5 separate regions of the Homo sapiens genome follow, and regions 1, 3, 4 and 5 are each linked to region 2. The links are contacts of gene promoters, found by promoter capture Hi-C in blood cells and fetal thymus (Javierre and others, 2016). All regions are on one chromosome and are shown on one strand. Each heading gives the region's core, a stretch centred on a gene start or on the middle of the fragment in contact. The rest is flanking DNA. Distances are from core to core; before and after follow the strand shown. Region 1 has its middle 89 kb from the start of LINC02850. Region 2 holds the start of GDF7 (growth differentiation factor 7). Region 3 has its middle 20 kb from the start of PUM2. Region 4 overlaps LOC105373465 (a long non-coding RNA gene). Region 5 has its middle 38 kb from the start of PUM2.

Region 1 (4,252 bases), core at 425-2,924, 280 kb after region 2:
AATCATGCAGTTCAAACCCATGTTGTTTACGGGTGAACTGTGAAAGGAAGAAGTGTGGGCAGAATAGATGTGGGGTGGTGGGATGGAGGGGTTGGGTGGGCCTATAATCACAGCTGGTCTTGAGTTGCTGGAACACTTTCTAGAACCTTCTAAAACTCAAAGGCCACTCACACTGTGGCCAAACTTTGCTCATCTTCCCTCTGCACTTATGGCTCCTTTGGCCCAGCCTGGACTGGCTTCAGGAGAGGAAACTGGCTGTCCTTTGGAAGCTTCACTTTGGCTTGATTGTTGTGCCGCCAGGAAGACACAGTATCCTGAGGCAAACACCCTGGTTTCCTGGTCCTGCAGGACCATTCTCCCACTTCCCTCGCCCAGCTGGGGCAAGCCAGGTCTAGTGAGAGCAAAGATGTTCTCATTCAATTTGGGGGCCTGGCAGCCAGATTTAATCTAACTAGGCTGAGGGAGGGAGTTGGAGATGATCTTGGGCTTGCCTGGGATGAGTTTTAATTCTACCCTCAGGATTCTCACTACTACGTGATGAAACCAGCATCTAACATAGTCCATTTACTTATTTCTGATAATGAATGTACATGGCATAAAATTCAAAGGACATAAAAGCATACAAAGTGAAAAGCAAGTCTCCCTCTCACCCCCATTCCCCTGGCTTATTTCTCCAAAGGCAACCTGTATTACCAGTTTTTCATATAAACTTCTAGAAGGCCTCTATGCATATCCAAGCATATATATTCTATTTTTTAAACAAATGATAGCATTCTATACAAAAATTCTGTCTGTGTTTCATGTTACACAACTTACAGTTTATTCCATGTTAGGACATACAGAACTGCTGCCTAAATATAATCACAGTTCTATAATATTTCACTGTATTGATATATTTTAATTTATTGAATTAGTTCTCTATGGGTGTACATTTGGGTTGATTCCAGTCTTTTGCCTTTGTAAGAACAATGGTGCAATGATTATCACATACCACGTATATTTAGGATAAACACCTTGATGTGGATTTGCTGGGTCAAAGTTATTGCCTTTGGGATTTTGACATCTATTTTGACACCTATTGACCAACCATCCTCTGTAAAACTTGAGCCATCCTCTCAGCAATGCATGAAAATGCTAATTTCCCCACACCTGTGCCAACGCAGTGTGGTGACAGGGCTTTTTAACTTTTGCCAATCTGATGGGTACATAATGATAGTTCACTGTGGTTTTAGTTTAGATTTTCATATAATAAAGGAGGTTTTGTATTCTTTATGAATATTTTTGTGTGTATCTGAATTTCCTTTTCCATGTACTGTCTGTTCATATCCTCCTACCATTTTTCTAATGTATTGTTGCTCATTTTCCTACTGACTTGTTGGAACTTACTGAAAGAGAGAGGAGAATTCCCCTTCTTGATGTTTTATATTTCTTAATGAAAGGGCATCAGTGAATGTAAGTCTTGTCCTCCTCTGGTCCCCTTCCCTTCCCTCACTCCAACTGTGAGGAGGAGAGGTAAATGATCTGATTGCAAGTTTGAGAGGAGGAAGCGTGTATGCCTACCTCGGCCCTTCCCTCTCCCTCCCTGCCCTTTGGGACATGCCTGCGGAGAATCTGTGCTCTTGGTGGCCCTCAGCTTATGCTCTGGCCTGCAGGCATCTAGAGCTGCTTGTGTCCTGGTGAGCGGATCTGCTTCATCCTGGGATCCAGTATGAGAGAACCTGTTCTTTACACACCTAAATCACATTCTCAGGCGGATCCACCAGTAATAAAGCTGAGTTTTGGGTTCTGACTTGCCTACTGCCTCATTGGTAGGGAATTTTGGCAGAAAAAGGGGATGCTATTTATTAGACCCCTCATACCCTGATGGGCTTTTTAGTATCAAGGGAATTAATCTTTCACCTGTGATATAAATTCTAACTATGTTTCCAGCTTTTCGTTTATCTGTTCATTTGTTTTTTTGATGGTGCTCTCCTTTGTTTTTTGGTGGTGTTCTCCTTTAAATGGAAATCTGTGAAACTGATCAAGTTTCACCAGATGTGAAGATATTGAGGTTTTGCGTCATGCTTAAAAACACCTTTCTCACTGCTAGATTATAGAATATATTTTCCTGTGTTTTCTTCAGGTAAGTGCCTGGCTCCATTTTTCATGTTTAAATTCTTGTGAGTTCCTTCCTGGCATGGCATGATACGGGAAACCTGGACTGATCCTAGGGGAGGGGGGCTTGGGAAGTGGCAAAAGAAGGAAAGACATGGGAACACAGAGCCACGTGTCTTTGCTTGGGTCAGTGCTGGTTGGTGACGTGCAGTTTTATGTCCTGGTGCAGCTTCTAGAGTTACCTGGGCACTTTGGCGGGCGGCTGTGGTCGGGAAGGAGGAAATGCAAAGCTCGAGTAGCCTCCCTCGGGGGTCCAGAAAGGGAAGGGACTCTCTGAACCCACTCGGTGAGTCGGGGTGCTAGCCGTACTAAAGCCTAGGTCTCCTGGCAACAGGTCCAGGGTTTGTTTTCCGGTCTCACTGGAGTCTAAACCCAGCTTGGTTCCAGTTGAACCAGAAAGCTCAGGGGACAACATGCCCAGCTCTGAGGTTGATGGGCCCTGTCCCATGCCCTGGAAAGCCCTGCTGTATGGCCTGGGCCTGGCCGACTTCAGACTCCTGCTGTGGATGCCGGCTTTGCTGTGACGACCAGAAAACCAAGTCCATGCTGCGACCCGCGGCCTCTAAAAGGAAAGGGGTGACATGCCTCCTCTCTTCCAACTAAAATCTACAACGGGCTGCAAATGTGGGATCATTTAGAGACCAAAGTCTTCCTGTGTCAGGTACTTGTTACTCTAAGTTTCTTTCACATGTTATAAAGCAACACAACTTCAGGGGAGCAGAGTGGACAGTGTGCCTCTTTCCCCTCAGCCCTGGGTACTCAATAGGCTGAAGAACAGGTGATGAGCAGCTTGGTGGGTGGCTTCTCACCTGTCTACTAGCAGGCCCCTTCTCTTCCCACCCACCTGTCCCTGAATAAGAAAACAATCCCTAACCTTTTTTTTTCCCTAAGCATAATTTAACACTGAGTTCTTTGGTTGCTCTCTGAAGCTTTTTATGTAAATTATTGTGAGTCTGCACGAATGGGATAATGCCTTATTACAGGGGTTCACGAGCTGTGTGTATTAAATGTTGTATTTAAAATGTTTAGTACATTTAAATTTTATGTGTGAAATCTTTATATTTTCTTTTCCAAGTGCTGTGATCAATTCTGTGTGACCTCTGGTCATTCTTTCTTCCTTGTTACCTTCCTTTTCTGCTCAGATAGCCTTGACTGGTCTCCACCAAGGTCTCTATATACAGTTGCACAGGCTGTGCACTGCACAACTCCAGGGAGTACCATTGATTTTATAATCTATGGGCTGAAAGGTATCTTTGGAGTTAAGGATTATGGCAGCCCTGCTTCCTTCCATCCATCGTGTGGTCACAATTTACATAGGCAATTCTAATTCCTTTGTATAATTAATGACTCATAGGTTATATCCCAGGGCCACTTGGAAGCATTTTTGGGGTTACCTGCTGTTCTGTATTATCCATGCTTGACTCTCCCACTAATGCATGTGATTAAGAGTTACTCCTGCTCTCTCAGTTGAGTTGAATCAAGGGGAGAAGAGCAAAATGTCAGTATGGGAACAGACTAATACAGAGAGCAAGGAAGGTAGTGGTGAGCAGCAGTCAGGCCGTGAACTGGGCGTTAGAGCTGAGGTAAGGTCCAGGCTGCTGGGCGACCCTTTGTGCTAGGAAGGGCCTCTTTCCTCTACAGGTAGGGAGGAAATTTGTCTTTGCTTCTGCCCTGACCTTTAACTCTCTATTAAATGGGATTCTGTATCTTTGGGCCAGCTGCTTCTTCGGCTTATGCCTCAGTTTTTCTATCCAGAAAAATGGGGTGATACCTGCCATGCTAACATCAGAGAGCTCTTGTAAGAACAAGGCATTTTGTGCTGAGGTCACGGTGAGCCAGCCCTGCAGAGAGAGCTCAAGACTTCTGGGCTGAGGCTGAGGGATGGAGGCTTGGGAGCTCCTAGCTCGCATGCTTGGTGCCTCTGCATGAGGCATGCCTGGTGCGTGTCTGTGTGTAGTGTATGATGTGGTGGAACCAGGCCCTGGGGACATCCAACCTAGTGTGGCTCCAGGCATGTGTCTTGGATTACTGAGCCTCAGTGGGTGAGCAGATGACAGAATCCTGCTTTAGAGAATATGAAGAGGATTTGAATGCTTAA
Region 2 (4,010 bases), core at 58-2,557:
GGGACCTAGGCGGCTTTGGATTCGGCGGGCGACCTCGCTTTGAAGCTGATCACCCGCTCAAGGTGATCACGACGTGCCGACCCAGTCTAGATTTTGAGTTCTGCAGAAAATGCAATTTTAAAGGAAAAGGACCCGCCTGCCCTTCTTCGGCAGTTCGTTTGGCCCAGGCCTTCGATCAGCTGAAAGTTTCCGATCTAGGGGGATGTCCAGGCTGCCGGCGGAGCAGAGCCGATAACCCCCCTCTCCTGCGCGTTCCCCTGAGACTTGGCCTCCGCAACCTGTCCCAGCCGCGGAGCAAACTGCTCTGCGGCCCGCGCGAGTGCGCCCCAGGGCTTCGCCGCTGCCGGGCGTCCCCTCCATCCACCTCGGGACCCGCGCCATCACCGCGGCGGGGTAAGAAGCTCGGAGGCGCCATCCCGGGGCTCTGCGCCGTCCGCTCTCCCGGCTCCTGGCCGCTCACGCACACAGCCGGTAGCTGGTTTTCGTTAGCCGCTGCCCTCGCCCAGAAGGCGGGTGGAAGGTCGCCAGTTGGACGCACAGCCAAACTCTTAGCGCACTCCCGCGCGAGATCCCCCATCACCCGGGGCTGCCGTCCTCATTTCGAGCTCTTTCTAGAGCTTGGCTCCCGCTGAAGCGCAACTTCCGCGCCCAAACCTTGCTTTTACGACGGGCGGTCCGCGTCCAAAGGTCTCTTACAGGCCTGCCCTTTCAGCTCCTCGCCCTCCCTTCCTCCCCTACCGGCCCCCTCCCCTGCTCTGGCCGCCCGCTGCAATCCTTTGGGGTCTGTGGCTGAGTGGGGAACCGCCGACCCGCGATCCGGAACGCGACTTTGAGGCCGCCGGGAGCATCCTGTGGCCTCTCTCTGCGCGGCCACCCGGCCGCGGCGCGAAGCGGTCTGGAGGGCGAGCCCTTCCGCGGCCCCAACTCTGCCGCCCCGTTCCCGGCATTGGGAACCAGGGCAGGGAGGGGGCGGGTGTTTCTCTGCGGGGGAGTGGGGAGGAAGCTGGGCGGGTGCGCGCGGTGCCCCGAGCCTGGAACCACGGAGGGCGCGTTGGTCTTGGGCGGATGGAGGGGGTGTCGCACTGCCGCGGGGAGGCGTGTCGGGAGGCTGGGGCCAGTGGCAGTCGCTTGGCGAGGGTGGGGGCGTAGCGCTGCGGTGGGAGGAGGCGGCTCCGGCCCTGGTCTCCACTCTAGGCCGGGGTGGGGGGCGCATAGCGGCCGCCGGAGCTTTCAGCAGGGGGCGCTGCTCCGGGCGTTGGGCGGGGGTGGGGTGGGCCAGGAGGGGGGGCCGCGGGCTGGCCGCGCACACTTCCCCCATTATTAAACACTATGTTCAAAAGGCGCCGGGGGACTTCCCGGAGCCACGGAGCCCGCGCCGCCCGCCCGCCCGGCCCACGGAGCCCATGGACCTGAGCGCCGCCGCCGCGCTGTGCCTTTGGCTGCTGAGCGCCTGCCGCCCCCGCGACGGGCTGGAAGCGGCCGCCGTGCTGCGAGCGGCGGGGGCTGGGCCGGTCCGGAGCCCAGGGGGCGGCGGCGGCGGCGGCGGCGGCGGGCGGACTCTTGCCCAGGCTGCGGGCGCCGCGGCTGTCCCGGCCGCCGCGGTTCCCCGGGCCCGCGCCGCGCGCCGCGCCGCGGGCTCCGGCTTCAGGAACGGCTCGGTGGTGCCGCACCACTTCATGATGTCGCTTTACCGGAGCCTGGCCGGGAGGGCTCCGGCCGGGGCAGCCGCTGTCTCCGCCTCGGGCCATGGTCGCGCGGACACGATCACCGGCTTCACAGACCAGGCGACCCAAGGTACTTACGCCTCTTCTGTGCCCGCCCATCCCGTCAGGTCCTGGGCTGAGACCAGCCCCGGAGCCGTGCCGCAGCTCCGTTACATTTGGAGCCGCGGCCCCATGCGGCCCACCCTCAGGTGATAGAAAGAAACTTCGCCGAGGCCAACACTCTCCAGCCCGCTGCACCTGGACTGTGGCGAGAGTCGCGGCAGCTCCCGGGGCCCAGTCCCAGAGGGCTGACTGGTCCCTCTCCCAGGTCTCCCTGGCCTTGCAGGCCGGCTGGTCCCCTCGAGGAGGCAGGCGGAGGCCAAGATTCGCTTCTTGGGGAATGGTCTGGAGTGGCCTCGGAGCCCTCAGAGAAGAAAGGAGGGCAAGAGCTGTGTTCCCGGGAGTCACGGCGAGAGGGACTGCACGGTGGTGAGGGTGATGGCTCCTTCCTTGCAGCAATTTCTGCAGCTCCCAGTCTCCTGCGGGCCACACAAATTGGGGGAAGCCCAGGGAAAACTAGGGCAGAGGCAGGTATCAGACTAAAGTAAATGGCCCTGGAGAGGCTGGTGGCATAACCAGGTATGAGGAGTGCCCTGCTCAGCAGGTTGGTCTGGGTGGTGGTGGTTTGTGTGTGTGTGACATGTGCAGCTATGGGTGCCTGTGTCTGGTGCTGGGCCCCTGGGAGAGCCAGAGGTCAAGGATCCTGGTGGTGTGGGGAGGAGAGGCCTGCTGGGGACCCTGCAGGAATGCAGGCCTCTCTTAGACTAAGCACCCCACCTTGTTCTGCCCTGGGCCTTCCAAAGGTAAGATGTAGGTGAGGCTGTGGTGTGGCTGCTGTATGTCATCTGGATTTTATTAATCTCCATTGAAATCATTAAAGCAGACAGATAGAGAAAATTTACCTAATTTCAGGCGGAAATGCAAGTAATTTCGGCCTTAATTCTATCCAGCCAGAGACCCAGCATGGAGGGCAGGAGGGAAAGAAAGGCGAATAGGGCTGGGAAGTGAGCGGGTGGGGCTGAGGCAGCCCTGCTTGGGAGCCACTGACAGTCAGCATACCTCAGGTCCTAGCCTGGGAAGGCAGGCAGAGGCCTTGCAAGTGACCAGGTCATCCATCCCTGCCAGCACATGCCCAGTGCCTAGCACAGACTGCCTTATTTTTGGTACCTGGAAATCTTGGTACCCAATCCCCAAATGGCCCTGTGGTTCGGTTAGAACTATCAAGCCTTCTCTGACGGCCTGACATGGCCCCTGGGCTGGATGCTGGGATACTTATAGGACGCCCTAGTTCTGGTGCACAGGGACAGGGACTGAAGGGTCCCAGGCTGCAGGAGAAGGGGGGTGTGCTGGGCTCTAAGTGGGCACAGGCACCAGAGTCTTCTTAAGGTTGAGCTAGTTCTACCATGGTCTCAGACAGGAGATAAATCCTTTCTGGGGAGCTCAGCTTGGCTGGCTGAGCCTGAGAGGCCTCCTCTCCCTCCTCCCTCTTGGGGGAAACAGAGTGGCAGGGCTGGTGAGCAGGGAGAGGCAGAGGATCTGCAGGGAATCTCAGAGAAAGTGCTCCTCGTGCAGCCCCAGTGTGCCTCTCCGGCCTCCCTCTCCACCCTGAGTCTCAACTTGGAACAGGGCTGCTTGAGGTCCCCAGAAGCCATTGATAGGGATAGAACCGGGACCTCAGGCATGAGGGCCTGACCTTCGTGGCTGGTGAGCAAATCCCCAGTGGTGGGGGGATTCTGCATAGTCTCTCCGAGTTTAGGGGCAAAACGAAACCATATGACCCCCTTCAAAGGGAGCTCCTTATCTGCTGCGTGGTGGAATTTTAAACTTTTTTTTTTTCTGAGCCCAAAAAGGAAAAAGAAAAAAGAGTGTCCACACTGGAAATAAAACCCCTAAGCCCGAGATAAGTCACTACAGAGGGAAGAATGAGCCCGCGAAGGGACAGACAGGCGGCTCCTGGAAGCGAGACCTCGTTTGGGACGCTGCCCTCACTGCAGCAAGGTCATTCCGGGATGCCCCGCACCCCTCCGGGAGGTTCCTTGTGTTCCTTTACTGCCTTTCCCCCTCCTTCGGAGGCCGCGAGAGCACCGGGAGGAGGTGCATTTGGGGTTGCGATCGCGAGCAGCAGCGCCCATTGTTGCAAGACCTGAGACCTTGGGCGAGCCTGGCCCCTACCTGGGCCTCAGTTCCCCTTCGGCAGAGCGAAGTTGGACTAGAAGGTCTCTGCGGCCGTGCAGACGAATTCTCCCG
Region 3 (4,278 bases), core at 1,238-3,737, 300 kb before region 2:
CAAACCTCAATTCTTGTCTTCTGCACACCCACAGGCCCAATACCATGTGGCAGCTCCCAAGGGGAGATAAGAATTTTCTTATCTGACTATTATTTATTTAATTTACTTAATTTCTTAATTAAGTAAATTAAGTAAAATCTTACCAAATGAAATACAATTGCCTTCTATCCCCTCCTGTTACCTCATTATCTGTTTCAGAAAAGATGAATAAAGAACACTACCGCACCTGGATGGACTTTTTTGCAAGGTATTGCTTGCCTCTCAGGCTTATTCAAATTCCAGAAGTGATTCATTTACAAGTTAATTTCTATTTCCCTGATCCATTCATTCTCCCTAATAATCATTTACTGCCCCTCAAAAGAATTGTCTACATTCTCCATCTCCTCCTTCCACTATGAAAAAGAGTATATACATTTCTGGGCTGAGTGTGGTGGCTCATGCCTGTATTCCCAGCACTTTGGGAGGTCAAGGCGGGCAGATCTCTTGAGCTCAGGACATCAAGACAAGCCTGGGCAACACGGTGAAACCCCATCATTTAAATTGTTTTAATTGTTAAAAATACAAAAATTAGCTGGGTGGTGGAGTGTACCTGTAGTCTCAGTTACTTGGGAGACTGAAGTAGGAGGATGGCTTAAGCCCAGGAGGCAGAGTTTGCAGTGAGCTGAGATCGCATCACTGCATTCTAACCTAGATGACAGAACCAGATCCTGCCTCAAAAAAAAAAAAAGTTTCTCTACCCTATTAAGGGGTGAAGTAATCACTTTGTGGTTCTCTCCTGCACACGTTAGTATACTTGTATGCCTTTTCTCCTATTAATCTGCCTTTTGTCAGTTGATTTTTCAACAAATGTTCAGAGAGTGAAGAAGTTTTTCCTTGGCCTCTATAGTTTTGGTGCTGTGAACAGGATACCAAAACTCTGCTCTTCTGGAAGCTGCAGTCAAGGGAAACCAGGACCTGACAAGTCAGCAGAAGGGTAAAAAATTCTTATGAGACAAAATCCCAGTCTCTTTCTCTCTGGAATCCAGTTGAGTGGACAGTAAAAAATCACTGTTGTTTTTTTCTTAACAAAATCTTGATTAATGGGTGAAAAGGATTTGTTCGACCGGTCTTGGGTGTAATGACCCTGATGTGCTTTTCTGGTATGAATATTCATACTGTCTGATCTTTTTCCTCCCAGAAATAGTTTTTCCCTTTATCTTTGGGGCTGGTATAGGAGAGTTCGATAAAGGCGGGTGGTTGGCTTGCATGTGAGAGGAGGTGTCTGAGTCAGTTATTTCCCATCTTTAAGAATTAGCCAACCCGGAGAAGGGCACTTTCCATGCGTCTGGAAAGCTTCCAAATGCCAGAGCATCAAGATACAGAAAATAGGAAAACATAGTTAATACAGTGACCTCGTCTCAGGACAAGTTGTGAGTTCCTGTGTGTCCTCTCGTGCTTTTGCTCTGTGAGGAACATATCGGGGGGGTTAGCTTGTTGGTCTCAGAATGAGAGACCGTGGAGCAGAGCTGCCCCAGTTAACTGAAAACCTGCAATGTAAAGCGGTCAAGGCAAGGGCAGAGCTGCTGAACTCCAACTACCTCTGGGCGTGCAAGTGTGATTGTTGTTTCAAGGTACTGAGTTTGAGATGACTTGTTATACAGCATTATTGTGGCAATAGATTACTGATACAATGATTGTGGGTTATCAGATTACACCTTCTAACTGTTTGGACTTTTTTTTTGAGACAGGGACAAGTTTTTCTTATATAGGGGTCCTGTCTATGCAAAAACTAAACTCAGCTATGCCTATGTGCTGGTGAGCAGAGAGCGTGACATTTATTATTCTATTCATTTAAAGAAAACTATTCTTGACATTTTAGTATGTGAGTACATCAAAACAAAACTATTATTATCTTGAAAGCATATATTGTTATGGGAATTGGGACTTCTGAACTTTCTGCTATTGTAGGAGTATGTCCTTGTAGGTTTTCCTCAACTATAAACATCTTAGGATGACGAGTTGTGGCTGGCAAGGAATGTGCCTTTCAAGTTTCAAGATGGAGTTTGAACTTAAAATGATGGTTACTGTGGCTCTCCCAGGCTCCTGCTTCCCTAACAACTGGGTCATGTGTCTCTCACTGTTCAGCTCAGTCATCCGGCTCATTCTCATGGTTGATAACAGAGTTCCAGGTGCAGCGAGAGGGTAAGCTCCTATGTGCAAGTGCTTTTCAAGTCTCTGCTTGTTTCAAATGTGCTATTGCCACATGAATTGACGTAAGACCAAACCCTGGGCTAGTATGGGATGGGACAGTGGAACGAGAGCTTGAGAGCCAAATGTTAAATTTCCAGGAATTTTGCAAGCCAGTTGTTAAGCTGCTGGTAGCTTGAAATTAGCCATGCTGGGAGTAATTATATAACAGAAATTGGCAAATGCTATAAACCAGGACTTTTTTTTTCTTTTCTTTTCTTTTTTTTTTTTTTTTCCAGAAAACCAGTTTAAACATCTCACGCCTGTAATCCTAGCACTTTGGGAGGCTGAGGTGGGGGATCACTTGAGGTCAGGAGTTTGAGACCAGCCTAGCCAACATGGTGAAACCCCATCTCCACTAAAAATACAAAAAGTAGCTGGGTGTGGTGGTGTGCACCTGTAAGCCCAGCTACTCAGGAGGCTGAGGCACGAGAATTGTTTAAACCTGGGAGGAGGAGGTTGCAGAGCCGAGATCACACCACTGCACTCCAGCCTGGGTGACAGAGCAAGACTCTGTCTCAAAAAAAAAAAAAAAAATTGCAAGAAGTTCTAATTTAACATCTTCGATGGGCTCTTGGAAACTGGGACTTTAAGTGAATTGTTGTACAGTGAGTCCCAGAATAATGTAGTTTCCTTCAATGCCTTTTTGTTATAATATTGATGAGAAAAGAAGATTGGTTTCATTATACTTTTTTAAAAAAATTAGCCATTCCTGCATTGCTATAATCATACTTTTTGCTTAAAGTCACAGTTTCCAAGAACTTATTAACAACTTTAAGTGAGGACTCACTGTATATAAAAATAGAGTCATGTATACATTGAGCAGTCGAGGGACACATTGTAGTGGTCATTTACTTTTTTAAGCATCATTTAGCCTTTTTCAGTAACAGACCCTGCTTGAATCAAGCTAAGCCACCCTCATGACATAAGGATTTATCCAAAAGACAAGCACATAAACCAAGTTAATTCAAGTGGAATAATTCCACAGGATTTTTTTCAAACTGAAGTTGGGAGAGGAAAGCCCCTCTTCTCTGTCTTACAAACTGTAATGATCTGAGCCAAGAGCTCCCAGTAGTCATCATTATACTTTTGTGGGAGAGAGCCAGCCTAAGAGAGGAACGCTAACATACACAAATTTGCATAAAAGAGAGACCAAAAGAGAAAGCTAGTTGCGGACTGGGAGAGAAAGAGAGAGGGAGAGAGGAAGGAAAAGAAGGGTTTACCCCAACCTCCTTGCTGTTTGGTTGTGATCCAATACAATATCTATCTGGCTGTCTGTGTCAGGCCAGTTTTTGCATCTCTATAAAGAAATGCTTGAATCTGAGGAATTTATAAAGAAAAGAGGTTTAATTGGCTCATGTTCTTCAGGCTGTACAGGAAGTGTGGTGCTGGCATCTGCTTCTGGCAAGGGCCCCAAGAAGCTTACAGTCATGGCAGAAGGTGGAGAGGAAACAGGCATGTCATATGGCGAAAGGGAGCAAGAGAGAGTGAGGACGAGGAGCCAGACTCCTTTAAACAACCAGCTCTCAAGTGAGCTAACAGACTCACTCATAATAAGAACTCACTCATTACCATGGGGAAGGCAGCAAACCGTTGGTGAAAGATTCACCCCCATGATCCAATGGGCCTTCCACTATACCCCACCTCCAAGATTGGAGGTCACATTTCAACATGAGATTTGGAGGGGACAAACATCCAAACCATATTACTGTTTATCTATCTATCTGTCTTAAAATAGATTGAGTTAACAGTTTCTGTTACTTGCAACCAAACAGTCCTGACTAACACACAAACATAGATATCTTGCTAAAGAGGTGGAGAAGGAACCAGTACAAGGAAAGATGAACATTGCTATACAGAGACCAGGATCTGGTTCGGGCATAGTACTCATCCATGGGGGGAAAATTAAACAAAGGAGGCTGTTAGCAACATCCTATGAAGATTTCCTCTGAGATTCATAAGTCTCCCCTCTTTCCCCCATTCCTTGTGTAAGTTCAAGGTATGGTTACATACAATGGAGACAACTCCAGACAAGTTAAGTAGAAATAGGCT
Region 4 (4,031 bases), core at 1,073-3,572, 260 kb before region 2:
ATATTCTGGATTTTTCTTTTTCTTTTCTTTTTTTTTTTTTTTTTTTTGAGATGGAGTCTCGCTCTGTTGCCAGGTTCTGGCGTGCCATGGCACGATCTCGGCTCACTGCAACCTCTGCCTCCCAGGTTCAAGCGATGCCTCTTGCCTCAGCCTCCCGAGTAGCTGGGACTACAGGTGCACACCACCACGCCTGGCTAATTTTTTGTATTTCTGTAGAGACGGGGTTTCACAACGTTGGCCAGGATGGTCTCCGTCTCCTGACCTTGTGATCTGCCTGCCTCGGCCTCCCAAAGTGCTGGGATTACAGGCGTATTCTGGATTTTTCTAAAAATTCCCCAACAATTTATCTGGGGCTGGGTGTGGCGGCTCACACCTATGATCCTAGCACTTTGGGAGGCCAAAGCAGGAGCTTGAGCCCAGGAGTTCAAGACTAGCCTGGGCAACATAGTGGGACCTCTCTACAAAAAAAATTAAAAAATCTATAAAAACAACACAAAACCCACAATTTATCTGGAAGGGCTTTTTATATGATACTTTTTATATTAGCACATACCTTCTTTTTAATGACTATTTAGTATTATTGGCCTATTCTTCAAAAGTATTTGGTTGTTTTCTCTTTATTATAAGCAAAGCTGAAGGGGCCATCTTGGTATAGAGGAAAGGGATGAACAGACCACAGACATCCTCTTTCTTCCCTGAATCATCACTGTTCACCTTGTTTTAAGTTATGGTCTTCCTCCTGAATTCATTTTTCATGATTTTTTTTCCTATAAATTAAATACATGTTTTAGATATAGTGAGGTGTATCTAAGCTATAGTTATTGTGACACATACTGAGGGCTCTATTAACTGTTGATTTGCCTATAGAATAGAGATGCTCTTCAATTATTTTTTTAAATTACGTAAACTCTAAGTTAAAATTTTTGTGAAATGAATCTTCCAGATCGGGTGCGGTGGTTTACGCCTGTAATCCTAGCACTTTGGGAGGCTGAGGTGGGTGAATCACTTGAGGCCAGGAGTTCTAGACTAGCCTGGCTAACATGGTGAAACTGCATCTCTACAAAAAAATACAAAAACTAGCCGGGCGTGGTGGCACCTGTAGTCCCAGCTGCTTGGGAGGCTGAGGCAGGAGAATCACTTGAACCCAGGAGGCGGAGGTTGTAGGGAGCTGTGATCATGCTACTGCACTCCAGCCCGGGTAACAGAGCCAGACTCTATCTCAAAACAAAACAAACAACAACAAAAACACACACACACAAAACAAAGAAAATAAGAGCTTCTAACTTAATTTTTTTTTTCACTGACCCCACAATCTATCATGTAATGAGCAATCGAGTATAAATCATTTGGGAATCACTAAAATAGCTAAATACATTGAAGAAAAAAATAGCATTTAAAACAACATTTTTATTTTAGGTTTAGGGGTACATTTGAGGGTTTGTTACATAGACAGACACCTGTCACGGGGCTTTGGTGTACATATTATTACATCATCCAGGTATCAAGCTCAGTACCTGATAGTTACCTGTTCTGCTCCTCTCCCTCCTGCCACCCTCCCGCCTTGAGTAAGCCCCAGTATCTGTTGTTTCCTTCTCTGTGTCCATAAGTTCTTATCATTTAGCTCCCTAAAAATAGCATTTTGTAACCTGAATATATTCCCTTAGAAAACATCTTTTTTGGGAATAAAGCTTAGGTTTGTGTACCTATGCTTTTTATTTTAGAATAAAAAATGTTATACAATTTTTAAAGGTAGAAAATTATGTGATATAATCTTTTTTGAAGGTCAGAATTTTATTGCTTTGGTCCAAAGGCTTCTTCAGGCCCTTCAGAAAGAAGGCCATACGATGTTATCTTTAAAACATAACACAAAAGCAAAACAGTAAACGATGTGAATTTCTGACTGTAATAGTAAACAGCATCTTTACAGCTAGTTTCCCATTAGAGGTGATCAGAACAGAATATTACCAATGCCAGGTGACTCTGTTTCAGAGATGAAAAGGCAGAGAAACACTTACATCATGAGACAAGAACCAGATGGAAAGAGCTACTTGGCAGGGTTAAAAGAAAAACTTTAGACAAATTAGATTTAACAGAGTTTAACTGAGCAAGAAAAAGAAAAAAAAATGATTCATGAATCTGGCAGTCCTGAGAATCGGAACAGATTCAGAGAGACTTCAGGGCTGCTGTATGGGCAGATAAATTTATGGCAGAAGAAGAAAAGCAAAGGACAGAAAATAGAAGTGAGGTAGAGAAACAGCTGCATTGGTTACAGCACAGTATTCGCCTTATTTGAACATGGTCTGAACAGCTGGCCGCCTGTGATTGACTAATGCATGGCTGTTGTGATTGGTTGAGACTTAGCTATTGTTACAGAAGCTCACCCCTAAATTAGGTTTTCAGTTTGTTTAATACTAAGTTAGTTTGCAGTTCATACATAAGAACTTGAGTGGCTGGGTGCAGTGGCTCACGCCTATAATCCCAGCACTTTGGGAGGCTGAGGCGGGTGGATTATTTGAAGTCAGAAGTTCAAGACCAGCCTGGGCAACATGGTGAAACCCCGTCTCTACTAAAAATACAAAAATTAGCCAGGTGTGGTGGTACACGCCTGTAATCCCAGCTACTCGAGAGGCTGAGGCAGGAGAATTGCTTGAACCTGGAAGGTGGAGGTTGCAGTGAGCCAAGATCGCGCCATTGCACTCTAGCCTGGGTGACTGAGTGAGACTCCATCTCAAAAAAAAAAAAAAAAAAAAGAAAACATTTAAGACTTGAGATGATGCCGTGCCCCAGGGGATATATTAGTCTGTTCTCACACTGCTAAAAGGACATACCCAAGACTGGGTAATTTATAAAGGAAAGAAGTTTAAGGGACTCACAGCTCCACATGGCTGGGGAGGCCTCACAAACATGTAGGAAGATGAAGGAAGAGCAAAGGGACATCTTACATGGTGGTAGGCAAGAAAGCTTGTGAGGGAGAACATGAGACTTGTTCACTATCAATGGAATAGCATGGGAAAAACCTGCCCCTATGATTCAATTACCTTCCGCCAGGTTCCTCTCACAACATGTGGGGATTATAACAACTCAAGGTGAGATTTGGGTGGGAACACAGAGCCAAACCATATCAAGGGACTATTATGACGATCAAGAAAATAATAGGAAAAGACCAGCTGGTTGCCGTGGTATGAGCCTGTAGTCCCAGTTACTTGAGAGGCTGAGGCAGGAGGATCTTTTAAGCCCAGGAGTTTGAATCCAGCCTGGGCAGCATACACAGACACTACCTCTTAAAACAAACAAGCAAACAAACAAACAAGTCCAAAGTGTACTCCTCAACAAGTTCTAAGAAATGAACTCAACGAACCTAACCAAATCAAACAGGTCAAAGTTCAGACAATATAGGCAGTTTAACAATATTTGACTCTAGTTGGGCATAGTCCTTGGTGCAGGATTTGGTGATGATTAAGAACTATAGTTTGCTGTAAAATGGCCTGATTTTAAAAGGCCATTTTTGTTGTTACCTGGTAACACAAGTCATAATAACCTGGAGACCTAAGGGAAGAAATTTATACTTTAGAAAACCTTGGAAAAAGCCAAGCTTGCCATTCACCATTCGGGATGCTTACAAACCAACTGTCAGTTGCTCCCATAGACATGTCATCTGTTCCTTTCTCTTGAGAGATTTCCTTAACGTATCTGGTGGCAGTATCTTAGAAAACAGCAGTATCAGCCCCCTTTTAAATATAGCTTTCTGTAATAAAAAAATCAAGGGAGAAATAGGTAAAACATTCAGTTTTGCTCAATAGCAAACAAAAGCCCCCAACTTAAATAAAAAGGGAACTTAAGCTACGTGATGTTCCATTGAGTGGTTTTGTTGAACGCATATGTTATTTATTTTCAGAGTGACTTCTACTTGTTTGAAACCCTAGGAAGTCTGATTCGCTGCAAAATCCAAGATTTTTCTTAATTTATGGATTAGCTTTAAATTCCATTCTTCTGGTACCTCACTACTGCTGAAAGTGGCCCCCCAGGAATCC
Region 5 (4,505 bases), core at 135-2,634, 280 kb before region 2:
CCACAGGGGGTCTTGGTCCACATGGGCAATCCTGGGGCCAGTCTTATGGGTGGGCTGTGGCCTCCTGGCCATGCTGGGCACCCTGTGCTATGCTGAGCTGGGTGCCTTGTTCCTGAATCTGGGGCAAGTATACCTACATCTTATGAAACTTTGGCTCCTTGCCAGCCTTCCTGGTCATCTTCACATATTTGCTGGTGGCCAGACTAGCTACCATTGCTTCTGTTTCTCTGAGCTTTGCTGAGCATGCAATGGTTCCCTTTTACCCTGGCTGTGCCTCACTGCCCCCTGCTGTGCTCAAGAATGTGGCTGTCACCAGCATCCTCCTGCTGATGGTGGCTAACTGCTGGAGCTTGAAGCTGGCCACCATGCTGACAAATGTGTGCATGGCTACCAAAGTATTCTCATTGCTGGTCATCCTTGGAGCGGGGGTGGTGTTGGGCCAGGGCCACATATGCACGGAAGCCCTTCTGTCTGCCTTCCACCACATGATGCTGCAGGCGGGGCACATTGGCATGGCCTTCTAGCCTTCTACCAGGGCCTGTGGTCTTTTTTTTCTTTTTTTTTTTCCTTTTGAGATGGAGTCTCGCTCTGTTGCCCAGGCTGGAGTGCAGTGGCACAATCTAGCCTCACTGCAACCTCCGCCTCTCGGGTTCAATCGATTCTCCTGCCTCAGCCTCCCGAGTAGCTGGGATTACAGGCTCAGACCACCATACCCAGGTAATTTTTGTGTTTTTAGTACAGACAGGGTTTCATCATGTTGGCCAGGCTGGTCTCAAACTCCTGACCTCAAATGATCTGCCCACCTCAACCTCCCCAAATGCTGGGATTACAGGCATGAGCCACCACACTCGGCCTGCCTGTGGTCCTTCGGTGGCTGGAATAGCATCAACTATGTGATGGAGGAGATCCAGAATCCACATATGAGCCCATAAAGTCACTTCTGGGGGTAAAATCTCTGAACTTCAGCAACTCCAATAATTGGAGCTGCAATCATCCAGATTTGGGGTGATTAAGACTATGAGCAATCCAGCTGGAAATAAGGGCTCCCCTCCTGCATGCTGGCACTTGCATGCTAGTCCACTGACCATCCCAATTAGTTTATGTAATTATAGAAATAATCACTTTGCAAATAAGCAGAGAACTTTCTAGTAATATACCCACGGTCTCCATTTTCTGCTCTGCGAGGTGGGCATTATGAGCTCATTTTTCACAGGGGAAACAGGTTTGGAAAGGGAAAATGATTTTGCGGTCACACTGCCTGTAAGAGACCATGCTCAATGCCTCAGCTCTATGTCTATCTCCTGGATCATCCTCTCCAGAACACTGCAGCAGGTAGTTAATTCACAGTTGTCAGAGCCTGGGGGCTACTATGGGACATAGCACACTTTGGACAGGGGAAGACCCAATCCTACCTGGCTCACCCCACTTGTGGGACCTGGGCTGACTAGTCCCTGCCCTGGTGGGGACGGTCTTCAGGACAGCTTGGGATTCAGGTGAAGCATTTGGATCTTTGGTTACTGCAGATATTAACTCTTTCCTATTTTAAATATATTTGCCTGGGATATTATTTGTTTTATTTTTTTCCCTGTGGAAGTTTTAAATTCTCACAAAGTGAAAACTTCGTGTCTTTTCCTCTCTGTCCTCTGGGCTGGCTTAAGGGCCATTACAGCTCTCGCAGTCTTGGCAAAGGCTACTTGGAGTGGGGTTTGGGAGATGTTGAGAGAAGATGAGCAGCTTGGAGATAAGTCCATGTGCAGAGAGAGAGCCAGGGAGAGAGCCAGGAGTTCTGGGACCTGGTTTTAATTTTTGCATGTAATTCCTTGAGCGTCAGTTCTTTGCCTATAAAATGGGATTGTAATAGCTGCCCTGCCTACCTCACAAGGCTTTGGGATTTCAATGACAATCACCTTTGGACGGCTAGGCCTCTGAGTGCCTTAAACAGGTCTACAGGTGCACCTCTTAGGTGAATGGTTCCCTGTGGTCAGGTTGGTTCTGGGGGTAACTGGGAACTACAGGCAGGGGCACTGGCTCCTTCAGTTCACAGGGCGAGAGCCCTCTCTCTCTGAACCCACACGCTGGGCTCAGAGCTGGACTTGGGAAAGAATAGGGGGTCCAAAAATGAGGCAGACAAGACCCCATGCTTAGAGCAGGGACTGGCAAACCTTTGCGATAAAGGATCCAGAGAGTTAATGTTTTTGGCTTTGTGAGTGTTCTGTCAAAGGGCTGTATATCCAAAGTGGCCCCCAAACGCCAAAAGAGCTGAGAAACCAAAGAATGAGACAGACAAATTCAGTTTGTCAATAGAAGGTCAGGGAACTTACAGACAGAAGCAGGGTCTTGGGTGGCTGCAAGACAGGTAGATCTCTGTACTGCACCCCCAACCCAGACCCGGGGCTTATATGTTGGGGAAAAAGTATATGTGCTTTGGAAGGCACGTGTACATTGCTATGGGTGTCACAGCCTATGCTATATGGACCAACAGCAAAGGTTGTTTTCAGGGAAGGTGACACTTACAGTGAATAGGTGTTCCCACACAAAGAATAAAACATCAACTAGATGATGGAGGCATTCCCAGACGTGGGGCTAGTCAGAAGTCACCTGGGGGATTAGCATTTATTTTTATTTTATTATTTGTTTTGTTTTGTTTTTTTGAGACACAGTCTTGCTCTGTCACCCAGGCTGGAGTGCAGTGGTGCGATCTCAGCTCACTGCAGCCTCTGCCTCCTGGGTTCAAGCAATCCTCCAACCTCAACCTCTTGAGTAGCTGGGACTACAGTCACCTGCCACCACGTCCGGATCCTTTTTGTATTTTTAGTAGATGCTTGCCACCACCCCTGGCTAAATTTTGTATTTTTAGTAAAGATGGGGTTTCACCATGTTGGCCAGACTGGTCTCAAACTCCTGACCTCAAATGATCCACTCACCTCAGCCTCCCAAAGTGCTGGGATTACAGGCGTGAGCCACCATGCCCAGCTGGGGATTAGCATTTAAAATAAACTCACTCTTGTCCCCACAGTGGGCCAAATGGTCTCTGTCCCAACTACTCGACTCTGTTGTAGCATGAAAATGGCCAAGATAAATACATGAGTGGGGCTGTGTTCCAATAAAACTTTATTTACAAAACTAGGTGGTGGGCTGAAGTTGGTCTAGGGCTGTACTTTGTTGATCCCTGCTGCGTATAGAGCATTTTTGACAAATGTGAGTTTCAAAGCAAATATAAAGCCGTTCCTCTGAATGCTGGGCATTTGGGATTCTGGCTCCAACTTTGCCCTCTAAAGTACATGTTAGGTGTGTCTTTGTTTATTTCATACTTTTTTTCAAGAAACTGCAAAACCTTTGCCAAACTGGGGCCAGCCTTATGCCCAGACTCCCTGGGATTTGAGTGAAGAATGAAGGTACCTGAGCATGAAATCAGAAAATCTGTTCTTGTTGTCTTGGCCAGAAACCTGTCTGTGGCGCAACTCAGGGCTCTGCAATCATCACAGCTCTTTAGCTGGTGGGAGAGCTCCCTAAGATGAGGTCAAGTTCAGAGGCAAACCCAGCCTCTGCCCTCTGACTGTGGGGCTGGGCCATGCGTGGTGGGTGGTCATCTTGCTGAAGCCATCCCACCCCGAGACCTGTGGGAGGGAACACTCCACTCTACTGGCCCACTTTGGCTACTGGCAGCCTCATCTGAGTACCTCATTTGGGAGAGCCATAATTCCAGCACTGGAGTGATGAGGAATTTGCTGCTATGCCTATGTGGTGGTTGGGGCAATTTCCTTTGCCCTCAGAATCCCCGATTTTAGACAGAGTCTTGCTCTGTCACCCAGGCTGGAGTGCAGTGGAGTGCAGGCTCCTTGCAACCTCTGCCTCTCCAGTTCAAGCGATTCTCCTGCCTCAGCCTCCCAAGTAGCTGGGAGTACAGGCATGCCCCACCACGCCAGGCTAATTTTTGTAAGAATCCCCGATTTTAGGGCTGGGAGGGACCTGAGAGGACCCACCTCATACGAGAATCCACTGGTGTGCAATTGGCTTCACTTTCACAAATTTTCCACGTAGCCCACCAGGCAGTGTGACTGGCAAGGCAGAGCAGCCCAACGAGGCTTCCTGGGAGAGGAGTCTGGAGCCAAGCCTCCAAGGGCAGATGCAGCCTGTGGCAACACAGCTATGTGGAGCAGCATGAACAATCCAGACACCAAAAAGGGCAAGGCATGTCTGCGCCACAAGGAAATATGTCAGTGAGTGAGAGCAGCCTCATCGCTGGGGCTGATCACAGGGACCTGAAGTGAGTCCTGAGATTACTATTCAATGCCACCATGACTTCCCTTCCATACCCAGCTCTGAAGTTTTCTGTGGGCAGATCTCAGCCCTGGCAGAAAGATCTGAACATTGCTTTTTATATCATGCTGAAGAGGGGAAGGCATGCTAATCAGAAGCAGATGCTTAAATGTGGGGAGGGCCTTATCTGGTGGGTGAGAGGAGGCCTGTTTGGGACCTTGGTGCAGCCCCCATGGGGGTTGCTC

The links. Contacts are between HindIII fragments. The CHiCAGO score rates a contact against its expected background, and 5 or more counts as called.
Region 1: a fragment that was not itself captured here is called in contact with the fragment with the promoter of GDF7 in region 2 in 17 of 17 cell types (naive B cells, naive CD4 T cells, total B cells and 14 more); the score reaches 18.1 in naive B cells.
Region 3: a contact is called between a fragment that was not itself captured here and the fragment with the promoter of GDF7 in region 2, in 2 of 17 cell types (neutrophils and monocytes). The highest score is 8.5, in neutrophils.
Region 4: a fragment that was not itself captured here is called in contact with the fragment with the promoter of GDF7 in region 2 in 11 of 17 cell types (neutrophils, naive B cells, monocytes and 8 more); the score reaches 9.9 in neutrophils.
Region 5: a contact is called between a fragment that was not itself captured here and the fragment with the promoter of GDF7 in region 2, in 1 of 17 cell types (neutrophils). The highest score is 6.7, in neutrophils.

What each region holds. Positions count from the first base shown.
Region 1 is chr2:20,947,125-20,951,376 of GRCh38, forward strand. No RefSeq gene overlaps it. Among named protein-coding and RNA genes, the nearest start is that of LINC02850, 89 kb to the left of the region's middle. The HindIII fragment of the contact is 2,814 bases long and covers 268-3,081 here.
Region 2 is chr2:20,665,837-20,669,846 of GRCh38, forward strand. GDF7 (growth differentiation factor 7) reads left to right here and starts at 1,308. Exons shown (of 2, transcript NM_182828.4): 1 at 1,308-1,794. The coding sequence starts at 1,404. RefSeq lists enhancers at 51-881, 1,868-1,987 and silencers at 968-1,077, 1,148-1,197, 1,238-1,387. The HindIII fragment of the contact is 16,143 bases long and covers 1-4,010 here.
Region 3 is chr2:20,368,213-20,372,490 of GRCh38, forward strand. No RefSeq gene overlaps it. Among named protein-coding and RNA genes, the nearest start is that of PUM2, 20 kb to the left of the region's middle. The HindIII fragment of the contact is 2,315 bases long and covers 1,331-3,645 here.
Region 4 is chr2:20,401,804-20,405,834 of GRCh38, forward strand. It overlaps LOC105373465 (a long non-coding RNA gene), which reads right to left. Exons shown (of 5, transcript XR_001739317.2): 5 at 1,388-3,745. Among named protein-coding and RNA genes, the nearest start is that of RHOB, 43 kb to the right of the region's middle. The HindIII fragment of the contact is 1,273 bases long and covers 1,687-2,959 here.
Region 5 is chr2:20,386,541-20,391,045 of GRCh38, forward strand. It overlaps the pseudogene SLC7A15P. Among named protein-coding and RNA genes, the nearest start is that of PUM2, 38 kb to the left of the region's middle. The HindIII fragment of the contact is 8,101 bases long and covers 1-4,505 here.